2 separate regions of the Homo sapiens genome follow, and region 1 is linked to region 2. The links are contacts of gene promoters, found by promoter capture Hi-C in human tissues and cell types (Jung and others, 2019). All regions are on one chromosome and are shown on one strand. Each heading gives the region's core, a stretch centred on a gene start or on the middle of the fragment in contact. The rest is flanking DNA. Distances are from core to core; before and after follow the strand shown. Region 1 holds the start of UNC13C (unc-13 homolog C). Region 2 holds the start of CCPG1 (cell cycle progression 1).

Region 1 (4,750 bases), core at 1,847-4,346, 1.4 Mb before region 2:
CCACCAAGTCTGGCTAATTTTCCTACATACATGTTTTATAGACCGCTCATGGTTAGAATCATCTTTCATTTATTTCCTTCTGTAGGTTTAAACATTTACATCACTGACATTAAATCCAAATTTACTGAAGACGTATGCACATTTACCTTATTCTGGGTGCTAGGGTCTCTCAGCTGACCACAGCTTCTGTACTTTGCAGTGGTTATTTCACACCAAAAAGTGAAAACAGATTCAGTGAATAGGTGTTCTTTTCTCTATGTATTAAAACACGTTCTTCAAAATAGTGTATTGGCTAGCATGAGTTTTTCTGTATAAAAAAGTCAAGTTTCGCCCTATCAGGTGCTTCTAGGTCTAACCGGTTTTCCTGTGCTACTCTCCAGTGTTACAGCCGGGGGCAGCAGAGCTTTGTCCTGCCTGCCACTCCCGTGATGAGTGAAGGCAGGAATAAGACTGCCCTGGTACTTGCCCCTGATGCAGATCATTAGACCTTGAGCAGCTGCTCAGGTCCATTAACAGTCACTTAAGCAGCGGGTAAGGGAAGCTGTGCTGCTCTGAATTAAAGGTGGGGCTGATAGCTGGGAATGGGGAGGGCTCAGCTGCTAGTACCCAACATATATATTGTGTCACATTTGGGGACACTTTTTTAAACATCATGGAGAGGTTATTTATTGGTTGTCACATACGGTAGGTGAAATGTTTTGCCACAAGTTTTGCCACAAAATGCTATATCCGGTTTAACTGTTTATTTTGATGGCAACTATTATTATTGAATATTTAGGTGGAGTCAATTCTAATGTCAGTCAAGACATATTCATCCCTCCATGTACTGAAAAATGCCATACAAATCTGTATATATGCTTCCTATACTGTTTAACCACAGCTGCTAGTTGACGTTCTTCAGTCCTGGAAATATCCTTCCATTTTCTAAAAAGCAAAGAAAAGTAAAATTTTAAGTAAGCAGTAGAGCAGATGTAGCTTAAAACCTCCAAATTATTTCAGGCCTCAAGCTGCTTTAAGGCTGTATTTTAAGATTCAGTACTTTTTTATTTGTTTCAACAGGAGGATTAGAGGATTGAAAATGCTTTATTGATGGAAAGTGGGAACTGTTACTCCCCCCACCTCCTCTACTCAGCAAAACTAAAAGAGAAAGCAAGTCCATTCAATTCCCAGCCAGATCTTTAAAATGTTAACATCAAATGAAAAGACATTATTCCTAAGTGAGAAGAAAAACCTTTGCATCACTGTAAGTTACCCATCATTTCCCACTTTGATTTATGCATGTGTCATTAATTGAAATTGTTCAGGAATCACCTTCAAATGGTTTTCCACAAAAATAAGAGGAAAAACCAACTGGGATGGGATATCAGTATCTCCTCTATTTAAATACAGGGTCCTGTTAGCTGCATTTGGTGGCTAATAGGGAATGATACTGTGTGCGGTATACTTTCATAATTCCAAGTACAGTCAAGTACATCTAAAACAGTCATTGTTGAATAACATGGGTAATTTAGTATTATCCACGCTATTCCACTGGCAGAATTGGCCATGACTGTCTCCTAGGTCATCATCCAGCGATAAAGGGAAGATAGGCTGAGGAAGCTCTGGCATTCAGGCGTCTCCCAGCGATGAAGCTGTGTCCCACACAGTTAGTTGTCAGTGCGGTGGTGAAGGCCACACCTGGCAGTGGCTACAGTGCGTCTCCTGTGAGCAGGGGCTGTAGCTCACCCTCTCGGAGCTACGCCGTGCTACGGCGGCAGGAGAGGGAGCCCGGGCGCTCTCGGTGGAGGAGGCTGGGGATCGCAGTGCCGGTGCTGCATTCAGAAAAGACTCAGCCGCAGCCGGCGATGTGTGAAGTTCCCAGCACGCACTCAGCCCGGCTGCTCCTCACCCTCAAATGTTGATGAGCCTGGGCGCTCCTCAACACACGGGAGAGATCCCATTTTGCTTTCTGGGAGAAAGAGATGAGAAATGAGCCGCGGAAGGTATTTGGCAATGAGAAGAGTGAAAGGCAGTTTCTTGCCAGCAGCTAAGTTGTAGAATTGCTTCGGAGGCTACCCGGGAGTGCGATAGAATTGACAAGAAAAGAACAGACACCGTTGCAGACCAAGGCATGCCTGATTGCACGAGTCGGATCCCTGGGACGCAGCTTCCACTCCTGTTCTAACTATTTGTGATTGAAAAAAGGAAACGAGACTAGAAACACAATTGCAAGTGGTGTTCCTAAAAGGAAAACACATACACTCCAAAAGGAGGGGAAGAACAACCCAGTTGGCGTGCACATTTTTTTTTAAAGGAGAATTCCTCAGGTATGTTCTTTCCTCCGTTGCACGCACTGCTTCATCTGCATGCGATTTTCTGTCTGTATTTTCCTGTCCCTTCTTTTTGTTTGCACTTGGAAATCACAACCATGGGGTTCTCTTAGCGTAGCAGATATATTTGTAAAATCTCGGCTCTCCTGTTTTTATAATGTACATGATTCTATGGAGCATCATGACTTCTCAGTCATTGCTTTTAAAAAAAGAATTCAGAATGATAAATGACTGCTTAGTTTCCAGTCAACTTTCAGGAGAATATCTACATAGGGACAAATAGGGTTGAGATGAAAGGCTGGGATATTCCATAACCCCTCGGAATTTTGGAAGAAAAAAATAGAGCTCAACAGAGAACAAAAGTTGAGGGCTTCTAGGAAAGGGTTAAAAGCCAAGATGTCATACACTAGTGTGTCACCCAAGTGTTTTTCCAGCTCAGCATCCAGTCTGAAGCAAAAGAAGCTTTACCAATGATTTTTTTATTTCTAGCTCTTCATCAGTTCTTCAAGAAGAAGATCCTGCAGATTTACTTTCAAGAGATGAATTGCTTAAATTGTGTGCTTGGTTCTGTTTTACAACTGTTCTGTGGTGCTCAAGGAGGCAGTCTAAAAAAATCCCTTTGGTCCAACAGCATGAGTAAACCCTAACTTCTGCAATTACATCATCAATATACTTGTATCATCAAGAGTAAGACAGATATACAACAATAGTAATGTTGGCTGTCTTTAGTACCTAGACGGAGATGACAACACTTAAAAATCAATTTTCCTCGTTAGGCTTTTAAGGAAAAACAGGAAAGAGGTTTGAGGGTGGGTAATGCTTATAAAGATTAGTTTTAAAATACTCTGCATTTCTTTAAGAAGCTAAAATTGTAAGTTTATATAATTTTGAAATTAATAAAAAACTTAATGATTTTTAGAAAATCATCTTACCACCTTTTGCTCATCAATACTTTTCATAAAAGTGGGTTAAATTGTCAATAAATTAAATGTGCATATGTCTATATTAAATGAGATTTTCTGGAGGGGAGAAACGAGAATGAGAAAGTACTACATTTTTGTATATATAAAATATTTAATAGATTTTTAGTGTTAACACAGAGTTAATGCCAAAGCTCTAGGACCCTGGCTTTTAATTATTGTTGTTCCCACTTTCTTATGATTAAAAAGTTCAAATGCAATAGAGGTAAGTGGGCTTTAAATTGTCATTTATGCATACTGTAAAGTAAATCACCACCCTGCTCTTTGAAAACTATAAACCTCATTTTTGCCAAATGGTAGCTATCTGGAGCACTTAGGCCGTAAACAAAATGAGGAAATCATTTGTTTTAAAATTCCACGCATGACTATAACAACAACAATGTCAAAATATGGTAAGTATAGGCAATTCTTGATACCAGAGGAGTGATTTAGAAAATGAGCAAAGTATTAAGTTTATGTTTGTTAGTAGGGAGTGAAAAACATTGTGTGTTTCTTCTATGTTGACATCTTGTATAAAGAAGCTTATGATGTCTGTAGGTGAAACACTATAGCAGTAATTTTACTGAATCCATTAAGTAATTTTTTAAACTAATAAACTGATCAAGGATCATCTAAAAGAATATTTGAAACTCTAATTTACAAAATTGTATTTTCAAACTATAATGGAATTTTGTTGAGAAAGTAATTTCAGTAGAATTGCCAATGTTTTTTCAGTAAAATTTGAAGGTGGATAGTAGGTAAGGGTTTATTTCCTAGCATTCAATAATTTGTTGTTAGACCTCCATTAAAGAAATCTGGAAACTCCTTCCAGAGATCATCATCACTATGTGCTAGGTAAATTCATGCCCAGGTGAAATACGAGGTAAAGTGTTAGCAAAGCCTAGAGAAATCACTTTTCATGGGCTTATTGTTAATAAAGTAAACTGTTTTCCTTTCCAGGCCATATAATAACTTGCTATGGTTGCTAATCTTTAAATGTGAAGCAATATAGTTTGTGGTGCACAGAACTAGTTGCTTAAGAGCCCATGGGTCATTGGAAACACAGGATAATTGCAGTGATTCCCCTTTTAAAGACAAAACACACCAAATGTATGTTGGGGCTTAGGTGGGGTTGGGAGGAAGGTCAGTGCAGAAGAGAACGTACTTCGTTGTCTGCTGATTTAGGGCAAACCTCTGTTTTTTGTAATATCAGACACTTTTGGTATGATAATATCTTTTCCCCGATTCTCCAGGCACTTTCATTTCTGTTAACCTTTTCAGCTAATGCAATGCATAAACCCTGCCATAACTTCTCTGAAGTATTATGCCACCTGTACGTTGTCTTCCAGTTTCAACATATATGTTTCTGTTATTCATTCTTTCCATCCCATAGTCTTTACTACGGAAAGGCATTCTCTAGAATTTTTGAAGACATTAGAATCATTTTGTCACCCAAGAAAAACAATCCTGCTTTGCATCTAG
Region 2 (4,836 bases), core at 1-2,500:
TCCCAGATACTCGGGAGGCTGAGGCAGGAGAATCGTTTGAAACTGGAAGGCAGAGGTTGCAGTGAGCCGAGATCGCGCCACTGCACTCCAGCCTGGGCAACAAGAGCGAAACCCTCTCTCAAAAAAAAAAAAAATATGAATTAAAATAATACCCTCACCATCTCCATCTTCTGCTATATGACCTGAACTCAGAAAATAAAAGTAAACCATTCACACTGGATGTGTGTGATAAATATCCCCTGAGACGTGTGGGACCCAATATGATTCTAATCTTAAAAGATACGATGCAGTAATAGCGATATTTCAAGCACTATCCTGTAGATTGGAGGAGACAAATCTAAAATTCATAGTACTATATAGTTAGCTATTCTAACTACAAGAATGCCCAACTGTGTTTTTCAATAAAAGTAGAGCAGAACAGTGCAAACTTCACCACTCAATAAAATACCTTACTTGGCGCTCCCAATAGTGCTAAACATAAACAACGCGTACAAGGCACTGCATGGGACAGCTGCTAATGAGGACAAATCGATTAGGGAGACCAAAGCTAAAGGAGGCCACTGGAACTGGAGAAGGATATGGAGAGGTATTTGATCATCATCAGGCTGGCGTGCTAGCGGAAGTCTCCGGGCATTATTTAATATTTAATCTTTCTATTCCTGACATCACGGGGGCTCAAATGTCATCAAAAGACAGGCTGGCATTAAACCCGGCAGGGTGACGCACATAACATCTTACCATATGGATTTTCATCAGTCCAGACCGACAAGCACCTCAAAGCCTGCCCAGTGAAGGAAGAAGGGTGGCCCAGGCCGTCAGCTCTCCCACCCTTGGCGCGCAGTTCGGTATAGCACTCGGGGTTTGGAGGCTGCAAGACCACCGGACCGGACGCCCCAGGGTCGGCTCGGGCCTCCGGAGCTGTGCACTCGCGCACGGCCCGAGGAGGTCGCCCGTGCGGCCGCTGACACCAGGCGTCAAGTCCCCGCCCGAGCAGCCCCAGCCTAGGAGGCGGACCCCGCCACTGCTCCTCTACTGAGCCGAGCGTGTCGGCCAGGGACTCAGACAGTCGGCACAAACCCCCTCCCGGGGTCTAAGCCCGCCTAGTACAGTACCTGAAGGGGCAGCGCCACCTCCGCCCGATTGTGCTGGCTGCCCCAGTGGCGGCGGTCACAGCTCGGGCGCCAATGACGCCTCTTATAAAAACAACCTGCTCGCAGGCGTCTGCAGCCGGCAGGCGGTGACCGGCTGGGCGCCGCAGTGCATGCCGTGACGCGTAGTCCCGCCTGCGCCTCCTGCCCGGCAGCGGTGAAGAGAAGAACTACCACTCCCGAAGTGGAGCGCAGGCCGCCGCCGGGCGGCTGCGGGAAGCTGGGCCAGGCGGCCGCAGATCCCCACAACATCCGGGAGCCGGCGACCACTTCCAGTTGCTATGGTTACGAGTTGCAACCTCCAGAAAGAATTCGTGGTTTCACCCGGGAAAACAGCTCCCCGGATTAAACGGATAGGTTTACACATACTGATCCACCCAGCTATTCATCTTCTGTTTGCTGCTTTAATTGGGTGCGGTTAAAAGGCCACGTCCCTAGGCGTTCACCGGCTTTCTTGCCATCTGCTGCATGAAAACTGACTTTGCCGAAAAAATTAACAAAGAAGAGCGAAAATGACAGACCGCAACCGGGTGAGTTTAGGCAGAGGGCTAGATGTTTGGGAATGTTGGTATTCGCTAGTATAATTTGAGGCACCACCTACTCCTACCACCCCCAACCCCACAACCCCGAAAAGCACTTTACAAGGCAACTACTGAGCTTTTACATTTACACTTGTAAATGCACGTTTCCTTAAGTCCGAATAGCCTCTGAAGGTGTAAAGACCATCGAGATTGTATGCATTCATACCCTACTGTTGCAAACTGTTCAGTGATGGTTTTGAACAAGAAAAACGTACTTTGTTAATTGTATACTTATTTAAATTGCACTGTGTCAAAGAAGGGAGTTGTTTTGAAAAAGGATTTGGTGGCCGGGCGCCGGGGCTCAACGCCTGTAATCCCAGCAATTTGGGAGGCCGAAGCGGGTGGATCACCTGAGGTCAGGAGTTCGAGACCAGCCTGACCTACATGGTGAAACTCCGTCTCTACTAAATACAAAAAATTAGCCAGGAGAGGTGGCGCGGGCCTGTAATCCCAGCTACTTGGGAGGCTGAGACAGCAGAATTGCTTGAACCTGGGAGGCAGAGGTTGCAGTGAGCCGAGATTGCGCCACTGAACTGCAGCCTGGGCAACAAGAGCAAAACTCCGTCTCAAAAAAAAAAAATCTTACATTTATATTCACTCTTTACAGAAGCAATAAAAAGTTTAGGTTTCATTCTCTGTCCCCTAATTGTGGTAAAAGTAAATAAATAAATGGAAAAATTAATAATAAACGTAAACATTAGCAAGGAAGACGGTGGACCTGAGCAGAGACAAAAGAGTGCCTCAAAATTAGACCTTTTTTATTTTTTATTTTTGCTTTTCTATTAACTATATTCAACATCAACAGTGACATCAAAAAATCTTAATTTTATAATTACAGCTTCTGCGATGGGCATTATTAATCAATGGCTTGTTTTCATTTATCTTTTTAAATGTATATGTATCTATACCAAAGGACTTCGAAAGGTCAAAGTGGTCTGGCTTTCTCTAACTGAAAATTAAATTACTAAGAAAGCTAATACCAGCTACTGGTAGATTTTTATACCTTTCAAGCCACTTTCACAGGCCAATTTTAAGATGTAATTTCTTCTGAAAAATCATTTACAATTTTAATTAACCTTTTTATCATTTAATAAAAGTTGATGACATGTGGCAGATAATTTGAACTCATCCTTTTATTATTCTTTGTATTGGCTATTTGTTTCGTTCTTAACTATAGTCAGTTTGAACTCCACATTTTAAGAATATCAGGTTTGAAGAAGGTGAAACCCATATTAGAAAACTGCAGTGGTTGTCTATGATGTAAAGTATAAAGCAATGGACCTTTTGTTTCTGAATCTATAAACATTTGTGAATTATCCTGGAAATCTAAAAAATTTTTAATTTAAGATTTAGCTTTTCCAGATTTTATGGTACTAATTATGCCAACAAAGTTTATCAGCTAATTTGTCTTCTGTTTTTACTAGATTTCGTTTTCTGCATTATGTTTTGAGCCAAAGCTGAACGAAATTCTAGAACCAGTAGTAAAGAGGGTCATTTGATAACAAGAAGAGTTCTCAGCTGGGCGCGGTGGCTCATGCCTATAATTCCAGCATTTAAGGCCCAGTACTCTGGGAGGCCGAGGCAGGCGAATCGCCTGAGTTCAAGAGTTCGAGACCAGCCTGACCAACATGGAGAAACACTATCTCTACTAAAAACACAAAATTAGCCGGGCGTGGTGACGCATGCCTATAATCCCAGCTACTCGGGTGGCTGAGGCAAGAGAATCGCTTGAATCCGGGAGGCGGAGGTTGCAGTGAGCCAAGATCACGCCACTGCACTCCAGCCTAGGCAACAAGAGCAAAACTCCATCTCAAAAAATAAAAAAATAAAAAAGAGTTCTCAGTGACTGAAGGAGATAGTATTAACAACAACAACAACAAAATCTACAAGTTGCCCTGGGCAACCTGCTTAGGTGCCCATAAAAGTAAATTACAGTGGTACTTTTCTGCGCAAGTCACAGGGCCTCCACCTTCCACCTATAAAGCTTTCCCCTGTGCTGAGGAAACCTAGAAAATTTAAGAAAAGCTGATCAGTTGAGATACCATCAAAATTTTAAAATTCTTATGATTTACTATTATCCAGTATCTGTGTTGTTAATATTTAAAGCAAATTAATAAGCAGTTTCAAAAAGAATAAACAGCAAGATCTGATGAGAATAACATTGATGACACTCAGTGAACCTGAGTTCTATTTCCAGCTTTGCCAACTACAAACTTATGAGTATTAAGTGAATATTAGCAAACCATATTATGCTAATACAAGGTCATTAACCTGTAGGTTTCAGAACTGTTTCTGGAAGATCATACATTGAGGTAAACCTGCAAAAAAGAAAATAATAAAATTTGGTGAGGCATGGTGGCTCACGACTGTAGTCCCAGCACTTTGGAAAGCTGAGGTAGGCGGATCATCAGAGGTCAGGAGTTTGGGAACAGCCTGGCCAACATGGTGAAACCCCATTTCTACTAAAAACACAAAAATTAGCCAGGTGTGTTGGCAGGCACCTGTAGTCCCAGCTACTCTGGAAGCTGAGGCAGGGGAATCACTTGAACCTGGGACGCAGAGGTTACAATGAGCTGCGACTGCGCCACTGCACTCCAGCTTAGGTGACAGAGCAAAACTCCATCTCAAAAAATAAAATAAAATAGTGATAAAAATTGATTCCATTTGGCCAGGCGCAGTGGCTCACACCTGTAATCCCAACACTTTGGGAAGCCGAGGCAGGTGGATCACTTGAGGTCAGGAGTCCAAAACCAGCCTGGCCATCATGGTGAAACCCCATCTCTACTAAAAATACAAAAATTAGGCTAGGCACGGTGGCTCACGCTTGTAATTCCAGCACTTTGGGAGGCCGAGGCGGGCGGATCACCTGAGGTTGGGAGTTCGAGACCAACCTGACTAACATGGAGAAACCCCATCTCTACTAAAAATACACAATTAGCCAGGCATGGTGGTGCATGCCTGTAATCACAGCTACTCGGGAGTCTGAGGCAGGAGAATGGCTTGAACCCAGAAGGCGGAGGTTGCGGTGAGCTGAGATTGCACCATTGCCCTCCAGCCTGGGCAACAAGAGCAAAACTCCTTCTCACAAAAAAAAATAAATAAATTTA

Evidence for each region. Contacts are between HindIII fragments. The study calls those that stand out against the background at their distance.
Region 1: a fragment that was not itself captured here is called in contact with the fragment with the promoter of CCPG1 in region 2 in 1 of the 25 tissues and cell types used here (dorsolateral prefrontal cortex).

Annotation. Positions count from the first base shown.
Region 1 is chr15:53,976,622-53,981,371 of GRCh38, forward strand. It overlaps UNC13C (unc-13 homolog C), which reads left to right and starts at 1,820. Exons shown (of 33, transcript NM_001080534.3): 1 at 1,820-2,306. LOC124903495 (a long non-coding RNA gene) reads right to left here. Exons shown (of 2, transcript XR_007064646.1): 2 at 729-924. The HindIII fragment of the contact is 4,386 bases long and covers 904-4,750 here.
Region 2 is chr15:55,407,109-55,411,944 of GRCh38, forward strand. CCPG1 (cell cycle progression 1) reads right to left here and starts at 1,251. Exons shown (of 9, transcript NM_001204450.2): 1 at 1,113-1,251. PIERCE2 (piercer of microtubule wall 2) reads left to right here and starts at 1,387. Exons shown (of 2, transcript NM_001198784.2): 1 at 1,387-1,678. The coding sequence starts at 1,661. The region is part of intron 8 of DNAAF4-CCPG1 (DNAAF4-CCPG1 readthrough (NMD candidate)); the gene reads right to left. RefSeq lists enhancers at 471-750, 1,111-1,380, 1,431-1,630. The HindIII fragment of the contact is 18,708 bases long and covers 1-4,836 here.